3 separate regions of the Homo sapiens genome follow, and regions 2 and 3 are each linked to region 1. Evidence: promoter capture Hi-C in 16 types of primary human blood cells and fetal thymus (Javierre and others, 2016). All regions are on one chromosome and are shown on one strand. The core of a region is centred on a gene start or on the middle of the fragment in contact, and the rest is flanking DNA. Distances in the headings are between cores, read along the strand shown.

Region 1 (3,952 bases), core at 1-2,500:
CCTCAGGACACACCAAGGAGCAGAAGGTAGCCAGGGTCAAGCCCCAGGGCACTTCCTGGCCTCTGGGGAGGCTGCTTGGAAAAGAGGGTGTGGACCAGGCCCAGCAGATGACACGATTCATTTATTCATTCAAAGCCGGTTCCCAGCGCCTTTCACACCAGCCCCGCAGGACTGGATGAGGGTGTCCTGCCCGCCCATTCCTGGGCCTCCACCCTCCCAGCAGGAGTCTCACTGAGCCACAGCCGGATGGTAGAAAAGCAAACTGGCCAAGTGATTTATTTGCAATGGGCACAGTGATGCAAAAACAAGATATTAAGACTATAAAATATGTGACTACAAAGAACCAGCGAAATAAATACATAGATATTAGATAGTCCAATAACTTAAGGCGCCCGTGCAACGGAGCGAGGATCCGCGCGCACGGGAAGTTCTTCTGCTGCAGGGCTGGAGAGCGCCGGCCACGTCCTAGCCTCGGTCCGACTCGTCCAGCGTATGGCCCTGTGGGGAAAGGACTGGGTCAGAGAGCTGTGCCAGGGCCGGTCCGGGTCCAGCCTGAGGGGCCCCGAGACCCTGACGCGAGGGGGCCAGCGCGATTGCGGGGCGCCGGGTCCCCCAAGGAGGTGCAGCGCCCCCGCCCCGCCGTCTGGGGTTGAAGTGGTTTTTCCCAAAGGCCCCGGTCCCGGCTGTTAGGGCGCAGGGCTCGCCGGGACGCGGGCAGTCACTCACCGCGGCGGGCTCATGGCGTGCGGGGTTTGGGCTGCGGGGATGGCCTGGAGGGCTCCGAGGGCTCGGAGGGTGCGGCGGCCGCGGCAGCCACGGCGTCCTCGGCGGGTGCGGCGGGTGCGGTGCGTTCCTGGCGGCTGCGAAAGTCCTGCAGGGCGCGGCGGTTCTGGAAATCGATGAGCGCCAGCGCGATGGCCGCGTTCCAGCAGCTCTCGCCCGCGCAGCGGAAGTCGATCTCCTTGTGGTCGGTGGTGACGATGGTGAAGTACACGTACTTGCCCGTGCGCTCCACGCAGTCCACCTTGAGGATGGAGTGGAAGCGCAGCTCCTTGGGGCGCGCGCGGGGGCTGGCGGGGAACAGGCTCAGGCGGTCGGAGGTGAGCACCCCGCGCTTCTTCTTCCATAGCTGGAAGAGGCTGTCGCTGCGCTTCTCCAACTCGCCCTCGCGTAGCACCTCGTCGGGGGATTTCATGTCGTGCCGAGCGCGGGACTGGGAGCGGCAATGCGGGCGGTGACGGCGCCGGCTCTGCTCCTCGTGGCCCCGGCGCGGCCTTTATAGCTGCCCCTCCCCGCCCCGCCCCTCCCCGCCCCGCCCCGGCCCTCGGGCCACCCCGCCCGCCTGAGCCCCGCGCGCCCCGGGCCATACCCTCCCCAAGCCCAGCCGTCCGGGCCCGCACCGTCGCGTCCGCGCTCTGGTCGGTCCCCGGCCGTCCCCTCCCATCTCAGAAGCCCGCGCTCCTCTTGCCCCCCGTGCCCCAGCTGTCCGGCCCCGTGGGGTGACTCGAGGTCCCGCCCCGCCCGGGCGCTCGCCCGCACCGTCTCGCAGGCCGGCCCCGCGGAAGAATGCGCTGCAGCCAGCCCTGCCCGCGATGACTCACGCCGGGGAGCCCCGGGAAGCACCCGCGGGCCCGGGGCCGGCCCACCGTGGGGAGACAGCCGGGACCAGACCTTCACCCTCCAGGCGCCCCAAGTCCAGCCCTGCCGCTCTCGGGCTCCCGGGGCAGAAGGAGGGTCGAGGCCCCCTTCCTTACTCCCGAGCCCTGGCCGTTCCGTCCTGTTCGGGGGCCTTTCCCAGGGCCGCCCAGAGACCCTCTCCGAAAGTGGCCCTGCCCTAGCGGACCGAGCTCCTATCTTGCCACCCACGGGCTGCGCCAAGAACGACCACCTCTCTTAGCCTCGGTTTTCGCTTCTGTGAAATGGGAACAGTAACCTTTGCTGGATTAGGGAACACGTGGAAAGGGCTAGACCAGCAACCCATAGAGCTCAGAAAATGGAAGGGGAAGAGGAAGCCCGTTCTCCTCCCTGCGCCCTCGTAGTGTCCCGAACTGGGGTACGGACTGCTCCGACCGCGCCCCCACGACCCGGACCGGAGAGAGGTCCCAGGAGCTGAGGGGTTCGGGCTGGGCCGCGACGCCCGCTCTCTGGGATCAGCCTGGGGGCGAGGGTCGGCGGGGGCGGCTGAGTCATCGCTTTCCAGCTGGGCAGACGGGCGGTTTTATTTACCCTCTTCCTTTAAAGGGTTTAATAGACAGGAAGCGAAAGCCGGCTCTTCCCGGGTTCCCAGGGGTGGGGGTGGAGCCGGCCGAGAGGACCCCAGAGACCCCGGCTACTACTCCACGTCTCCCACCTTCCCGCACCCCTGCCCCCTAGCTGCGCCCTGGGGTGGTTACAGCAGGAAGTCCCAACTCTGGGGTCAGAATTGGCCTCAATGACGGGGCTCACGCAAAATGAAAACGAGAGTCCCCTGATTCAAAATGTATTTAAAATGTCAAGACAGTGGCAGCAGAGCGTAAAACCCAGACCTGGGACCAGCCCTACCTCCACCTGCCCTTCAGGGTCACTGTAAAGGATAAAGAGACGTCCGGCTCAGAGGAGCGCCCCAGACCCGGTTCTGTGAATGGCATGCAGGTAGCAGCTGCCCGGTGGTCCCACCGGTGTGGCCAGAGGACCTGGCAGTGGGCAGGGATGTGGTGTGGAGGGGCAGTGCCGGCAGAGGGCAGGGTTGGGCTGTGCCAGGGTTCTGGCCTGGGAGTGAGACACCTGCCTGGGGCCGGCGGGTCAACACTGCCCCCTACCTGACACCTGTCCTTGCAGCAGGGCTGGGATCCTGTGGTGAGGGAGCAGCAGGTAGGGTGGGTGGGTGAGGGGAGGTCAGCCTTTGGCGGGGAGAGGGGATTCGAGCATTGTTCCGGAGAGGCTGCAGGAAGGATTCGGACTCTGGTGTCCCTTCTTTTGCTTCCAGAGGGCCCTGGGCTGCCGGACAGTGGGACCTGGGCAAGAGGCACCTCTGGGCAGTGGGAGACCAGGAGAAGCGGCCGGGGGCAGAGCGCTCTGTCACTGCGCCAGCCCACAGGTGCCTGGAACACCTCCAGGCCCACCAGCCTGCCTACCCCATTGAGGGGCCAGCCAGTGGAACTTCGGCTCCAGGCAAATCCCCCGACACTCGTGGTTGCTTAAGCACCTACTGTGTGCCTGCAGGCCTGGCTGGTGCTGGGACCCCAGAGGAGGGGAGAGGAATCCCTCTAAACCCCAGGGGCACAGCAGGTACATGAGGATGGGGATAGGGGTCGGGGGTACTGGAGGCCAGGAGGACAGCTTGGAGGACTCTGTGGGGAGGGCGTGCCCTCGAAGATTCCAAGGAGACCTTGAAGGGCCAGTGGTGCCCGTATGCCACCACTGTGCCCAGCCTCCACCTAACCCAGAGAACTCCCCAAAGTGGGCACTCCAGCCCCTGTTCCACAGAAGAGGAAACTGGTTCAGGATGGAGAGGGCCTTGGGGAAGGGACAGAGAACAGGCAGGAGCAGATAAGGGGCTGAGAGAAATGAGGGGGAGGAAGAGGGTTTGGAAACCAGGTGAGGCCAGGTGAGGTGTGCTCCCCCAGCCCCGCCCAGCTCCTCTCTTTGCCTGTACCCCAGTGGCCCTCTCAAGGGAGGCTGGGAAACTCACTCCCCTGGGGGCAGGACTTACAACCCAGGGGTGATGCTCTGACAGGTGGGGCAGGAGCTGGGAGGCCAGGGGGCAGGGTGTGCAGCCGAGATTCAGAGGCCCTGCCCTCCCTAGGGGATTTCCTGCCCACTCAGCCCCTCTCTGCTATTCCCCTCATGGACACTGTGAAGACCTGGGGGGTATGGGGGTGGATGGCCCTTTAGGGGCTGCTGGAAATCAGGTCTGAGCCCTGGAGGCCAGGCCTCCCCAGGCAGCTTCTCTGCCCACAGTCCCTGCCCCAGG
Region 2 (2,500 bases), core at 1-2,500, 630 kb before region 1:
TCAATGGCTGTAGACCAGGTGTCCGGGGATGCTTTGATTTGCCCCAGTGATCAGTAGTCATATCTGGAACAGCAGTTGCAATTGGAGTCCTGGTTAAGTTTACCAGGATTCACTGTCCTTCTTTCTCCGGGACCCCCCTGTCTTCCACACAAGCCAATTAGACGAGTGGAACGAGGCTGCAGTGGGGGTCACCACCCTGCATCTTCCAAGTCCTCGATGGCGGCACTGACCTTTGCAGTCCCTCCAGGGCTGCAGGTTGCTTTTGACTGACAATTTTCCTAGGCAGAGTTCACCCCAATGGCTTCCACCTGGCCTTTCCCAGCATAGTAGCCCCCACCCTCAGGTCAGGGAACAAATGTGGGGGCTCTGCTGGCTGCCACATACGTCTGTTTACTCACCCATCTGAGGCTAGGGAAGTGACCTCTGCACCCACCGAGGGTTGGACCTGAGCTAGAACTCCGTGAGCCCACTGACCTCCATACGCCCCTCCTCTGACTATTAGATCCGATGGGTGTTTGTGTCCCCAGGAGTGGGTGTCAGGTTAGAGTTAGAGTCCAGTAATCCCCCTGAGTCTGATGATCCCCCTTTCCACTAGCCACCCCAGCAAATGGCTGCAGGTCCCTGAGGGGAGACTGGGGAAAGAAGAATAATGTAAATTTGTAGGAGTATGGCAAGGTCCTTCCTCAGGGGCACCCAGTCCTCCTTCACTCAGGCACCAGGCAAGGGAGGCCACCCATTGCTCCAGCTCCCGTGGCACCGTGAGCCACCGGCCAAGGCCACAGGGCTCCATGGGCTGGACTGTTCCAATCACTGCCGGTGCCAGTTGCCATCTCAGCCACAGGCCCGGGGCCTCGTGGCCACCCCCACTGGGCTGTGCCCTGCCTCCTTAAAGACTGTGAGCGAGCTCCCAACTGGGACACCCCTGACCAGCTCACTCTTATTTTGTCTGCCCTGGCCCTGATGCTGGTGTTTGAGATATCAGAACTCACCTCAAACCACCCTAAGCAGAGATCACTCCGGCTGACGCAGGGGTGCGGCCCACATGTGAGGGACCCTCAGGCTGGGCAGCATTGGCTGAGCCCCCACCGCACCTTCCCTCCCACCCTGGGGTCCTCAGCCTCCGCCCAAGGCAGGGGGGACACTGCTGGCAACTGGTCACCCAGAGAGCATGGGCTGCAGGGATGGCCCTGAGTAGGACACACAGCTCCCGAGACCCCTCACTGGGGACACAGGGGGGCCCTGCAGCCAGGGTGTCAGTGTGGGGACAGCCCAGCAGACCCCAAGCCACCCACTGAGGTTGCTTCTCAGGGGAGCACCACTGGTGGGCTGTCAGCTCCTGCCTGGGCCCCGGCCTCTTGCCCCTGTCCCACCTCCCACCTGCACGGCCTCCAGCATTGCCCAAATTCACTGCCTTCACTCCCAAGTCCACAGAGGTGTCTCATCCAGGCGGGTGAACACTCGTGTGTTGGGAGGCTGGTGAAGCCTGGCATTGGGGGGCACCACCCATCTCCCTTCTTTGTCTCACTGCCTTGAAACACCCCACATCTATCACCTCTGCCCCCGAGGCTCCCCAGGTTCACCCCATGCCAGCCTCAGCCCAACAAGGCCTGTGCTTCTGACCAGCACCGCTGGGGTTCTCAGGGCATCTACCCTTTCCGCTGTAGCCCACTGTCTCTAAACATATTTCACACGTTGCTGGGGGCAGTGTGTGTGACTCACTGCTTCCCAGAGCCAGCCCAGAGCTGTTTAGTAGACATGAGGTGAGTGAATGAATGAATGAATGAATGAGTGCTGGGAGCTGTCTCAGTTAGCTCCAATCTGCCATAAGGAAGCACTGCAGGCTGGGCATGTAAACAGCAGGTGCTTATTTCTTGCAGTTCTGGAGGCTGGAAGTCCAATATCAAGGTGCTGCTGATTCCAGTCTTGGTGAGGGCTCTCTTCCTGGCTTACAGATGGCTGCCTTCTCTCTGTGTCTTCATACAGCTGTCCTTCAGTGCATGTAAGGAGAGAGAGAGAGAAGAGGGAGCTCCTAAATGTCTCTTGGTATAAGGGCACTAATCCTATGGGACCAGGGACCTTCATGTCCTCATCTGTCCCTAATTACCTCCCAGAGATCCACTTCCTAACACTATCTCATTGCGGGGCAGGGCTTCAACCTATGAATTTTGCAGGAACACGATTCTGTCCATAGCGAACACTGACACTGAACCCGCCTCCTAAAGCCTTCTCTCACCATATTCCTCATGCTGCTCAAAGATCCTCTGCAACCTTGTGCCCCTCCCAAGGGTCCCTGCACCTGTCCCAGAGAGAGGGCAGCCTGGCAATGGGCCTGGGCCCTGACGCTTGAGCATCGGGGTCTGGCCTGAAAGGGGATGGGCGTTCACTTCTAGGTTCCTGAGAGAGGCAACACTGCACCTTTAAAGGTGTCAGGAGCTCACTGCCCCAGCTGGTCATGAAACAGTCTCTTCATCAAGGGCTAAATAAAGCACGCTGACCACCA
Region 3 (3,952 bases), core at 758-3,257, 560 kb before region 1:
ACTTGAGACTGCGTAATTCATAAAGAAAGGAGGTTTACTTGGCTTACAGTTCCCCAGGCTGTACAGAAAGCATGGTGCTGGCATCCACATGGCTTCTGGGGGCGGGCTCAGGAAACTTACAATCATGGCGGAAGGCAAAGGAGGAGCTGGCACTTCACGTGGCCGGAGCAGGAGGAAGCCCAGAGGGAGAGAGGGGAGGTGCCATATGCCTTTAAACAAGCAGGTCTCATGAGAACTCACTATCACGAGAACAGCACTGGGGGGAAATCCACCCCCATGAGCCAATCACCTCCAGCAGGCCCCACCTCCAGCATTGGGGATTACAATTCAACATGAGATTTAGGCAGGTACACAGATCCAAACCGTATCAGGGTGTGGCCTAATGGTGATACACTGGGGAGACTTGGCCTGTGGTCTTAGTCCATCGTGTGCTGTTAGAACAGAAAACCACAGACTGGCTAACTTATTGGCCCCTGGTCCTAGAGGCTGGGAGGTCCGAGATCGACAGGCCACCTCTGGCAAGGGTCTTTGTGCTGCCTTATCCCATGACAGAAGGGCAAAGAGAGGGAGAGAGAGACAGCCAGAGAGAAGGGGACCAAACTCATCCTTCTGTCAGAGCCCGCTCCCACGACAATGATGTTAGTCCATCATGATTACAGAGATGGGGGACACATTCAGACCACAGCAGCCCCCTCAACCCGCACACACTGCACATTGAGGGGAGGGCCGGGAGACTGGAAGGAAACATCAGAGTCTGGAGAAGACCACCAGGATCACCAGGGCTATGCTCTCACCCGGCACCCAGCACCGAGGGGCTCATGGGAAACAAGACGGGTCTCTCGGTGCACGAGTGCTGGGCACACATAGTCCACCGTGCATCCTGGGCTGATGATCTGGACCCTGGTCCTGTGCAGCCCTGGGGTGGGGCTCCAGGCTGAGATCAGCCACGTCTGGGGGAGGAGACAGTGTTCCCAGTCTCACCTTGCCCCACGGACTCTGACAGGGGTTGAAGAAGCAAGGAGGCTCCAAGGACTGGGGAGGGGGAGTCTGGCCGACGATCTAGGAGCATCAAGGCGCCTGCTCCCTCTCGGCGTGGCCCGGTCCTGTAGGTGGTCAGTTATGCAATGCCACTGCCTTCCTACCTCACAAGGAGGGTGGGTGGACTCAGAAGCCAGGCCCAGGCTTCCTTCTTGGCTCAGGCAAGGAACATAGGGGGCTTTGAGCTTTGCTTATTCATTTAACAACTGAACCCCTAGTCTGTGCCAGGCCCCCATTTAAATGGTCCCTGGGATACAGCAGGGTCCAGAATGGGCCCAGACCCTGCCCCCATAGCTGACCTTCTGGAGAGCCTGAGGAGTGAGGGGTGCCCTCCAGGCACGGCAGACGGGGCAGGCTCTGCATTCGGGGGCTCCAGCTGCTTTCCCACCACCCACCCACTCCACCCGAGCCCTTCTGGGTCAGCTGGGCTCCTGGCTCTGCCCGCCTGGGGTGCAAGACGCCAAGTTCCTTCCTGGACAGTGAGAGAACCATGCCAAAAAGAAATGAAAGGAAGGCAGACGGCGAGATGAGGGAGAGGGTGGGCACCCAGCCAGGGACCGCAGAGACGAGGAGGAGGCACAGAGACCCACTGTCCCCAGCCACTGCCAGTGAGGCTGGCCCAGGGCCAGGGGCTGGGCGTCCCTGGCATGCATGTGGCTCCCAGTGCCCCCACGTCCAACAGGAGTGGGGCGGCCCCCTCTTCTGCCACATCCCCATCCCACCTCCCATTCCATTCACTGGTCTCATTTTTAAGTTTTTCTCTCCCAGTTATTCAGGATTGATTTGGAGAGCAGAGCGATGGCTGCAGGTGGCTCTTCATTTTCCTTCACCTAAGAAGCAAACCATCATCCACCCCAAGCTTGTCTCTCCAGCCTGCCCCCTACATGAGGACAACCTCCCTCCTCTTCCACGGTGGCGCTGTTCCCACTGGAGGCCCAGGCTTGGCCATCCGTTCATTCTTGGAGTCCTCAAGAGATTGTCAGCTCTGCAGTGGGGAGCAGCCGCTGTCAAAGACCCTGGAACTTCCTCCCTGCTGCGTCCACCAACCCCCACTGCCCGCTGGGCACTCCCAACCTGAAACAAGCTTGCTCGCTGCAAAAGCCTCACCTCTGACCCAACTTCCCACTCCCAGGATACCCAACCTGGCCTTCCCTCTGGATACCCCTGTGGGCTCCCCTCTGCTGATGGGTTCCCCTCTCCAGCTGTGGCTTCCCTCTGCTGATGGGGTCCCCTCTCCAGCTGGGGCTCCCTCCACTGATGGGGTTCCCTCTACAGCTGTGGCTCTCTCCACTGATGGGGTCCCCTCTCCAGCTGGGGCTCCCTCCACTGATGTGGTCCCCTCTTCAGCTTGGGCTCCCTCCACTGATGGGGTCCCCTCTTCAGCTGGGGCTCCTCTCCACTGACAGGGTCTCCTTTCCATCTGGGGCTCCCTTGGCTGATGAAGTCCCTTCTCCAGGTGAGGCTGCTCTCTGCTGACAGGGTCCCCTCTCCAGCTAGGTCTCCTCTCTGTTGATAGGGTCCCCTCTCCGGGTGGGCTCCCCTCTGCTGACGGGGTCCTCTGATGGGGTCCCTACTCCAGGGGGGCTCCCCTCCATAGATGAGCTCCCCTTCCTGGGTTGGGTGACCCCTCCGCCCTATCTGTGTCTGCAGGTTGGGGCTAGGCAGTGCTGGCCAGCATCTGACAACCTCCCCTTTCTGTTCTTGGGCACTGCTCACTTATTCAGGTCTCAGCCAGGCAGCCCCTCCAATGGTAATCTTCAGAGTCCCCTTCAGCAACACAGCTTCCCCTCTGTGGCCCAGCTCATGCTGAAGTAAACAAGGCAATGTCATTAACGGCTGGTATCAGCTTGTACGGGGAACCAGTGGCCCCAGAAGCCTCTGGGGAGGCCCAGGCTGTGAGGATCAGGGGTCCGGAAGAGCCTCTAGAGCGGGAGAAAGAGGCCTCAGGGGTCCCTCCTCACAGGGGATGGTGACAACACGGTAGGGAATGGAGGGGTCAGGGCTGGGTCCAGGACACGGTGACCCTGGCCAGAAAAGGCCGGGCCTGGCTGGCACCCGCACGAAGGGAACGGAGCCAGTGTGGAAAAGCAGGCCCGCGTCCTCTTCTGCACTCCCAGCCCCTTTAAACTACACACAGCTTGTAGGAAGGGGATCAGAGGCCCCTGGGCGTCCCATGGCTATGCTGCACCTGGGGACATGAAGCCTAGGGTAGCTCAGCCAGCTCTGGTCACGGCTGACAGACAGCCTCACCCCAACAGCCTCACCCATCCCTCCTCAGGGAACAGGGTCCTAACAAGCTGCTTTCCCCATCCCAGTGTTGAACAAAAACTCATGGGTTTAGACAAGAGTGAAGGTGACTCCTCCACCACCCATCCCACCTCCAGCAGGCAGCCACCCCCAAAATTATTGATTTATTAATAAATCAATGACAGGTGCCAGCCAGCCCCACCTGTCCCCAACCTGCAAATGCAGACAGGGGTCACTTGGTCCAGGGAGAGGAGACCCTCAGTGGAGGGGAGACACCCTGGAGAGGGGACCCCATCAGCAAAGGGGAGCCCCAGCTGGAGACAGTAAATAGGCAGACTATTCACTGTCTTCCCCCTCAAGCCAGGCCCACAGAGTCACAGAGTATAGCCACCAGCCTCCTGGGCCCACCCGGGAGGCCCCAACCACACTCCCCCTGCTCAGCTCAGCCCGGATTTCTGGATTCTGCTGCCTGCCAGGGATCCTGAGGAGGAGATGGTATCAGAGCCTCACCAGCCCTTCTCATACCCAGGAGTCCTCATGATGATAACAGTGTGTGCGCCAGGCTGTGCAGGTGCTGGCCGGGATCCTCTGAGGGGACGAGATCTCCATGGGAGGGCACCACTCTGATGTCCATCCTGGGCTTCCGTGGCCCTGCCTGGCCACTGCC

Evidence for each region. The method cuts DNA at HindIII sites, captures the fragments that hold promoters and counts their contacts. A CHiCAGO score of 5 or more calls a contact.
Region 2: a contact is called between a fragment that was not itself captured here and the fragment with the promoter of PHLDA2 in region 1, in 2 of 17 cell types (naive CD4 T cells and naive CD8 T cells). The highest score is 5.7, in naive CD4 T cells.
Region 3: a fragment that was not itself captured here is called in contact with the fragment with the promoter of PHLDA2 in region 1 in 4 of 17 cell types (total CD8 T cells, non-activated CD4 T cells, naive CD8 T cells and 1 more); the score reaches 6.7 in total CD8 T cells.

Annotation. Positions count from the first base shown.
Region 1 is chr11:2,928,170-2,932,121 of GRCh38, forward strand. PHLDA2 (pleckstrin homology like domain family A member 2) reads right to left here and starts at 1,251. Exons shown (of 2, transcript NM_003311.4): 1 at 727-1,251; 2 at 104-498. The coding sequence starts at 1,195. The coding sequence ends at 737. RefSeq lists enhancers at 528-1,136, 1,137-1,746, 1,747-2,355. The HindIII fragment of the contact is 14,179 bases long and covers 1-3,952 here.
Region 2 is chr11:2,295,934-2,298,433 of GRCh38, forward strand. It overlaps C11orf21 (chromosome 11 open reading frame 21), which reads right to left. Exons shown (of 4, transcript NM_001329958.2): 4 at 1-1,988. Among named protein-coding and RNA genes, the nearest start is that of C11orf21, 4.7 kb to the right of the region's middle. The HindIII fragment of the contact is 2,527 bases long and covers 1-2,500 here.
Region 3 is chr11:2,364,881-2,368,832 of GRCh38, forward strand. All of the region lies in intron 1 of CD81-AS1 (CD81 antisense RNA 1), which reads right to left. Among named protein-coding and RNA genes, the nearest start is that of CD81, 10 kb to the right of the region's middle. The HindIII fragment of the contact is 225 bases long and covers 1,896-2,120 here.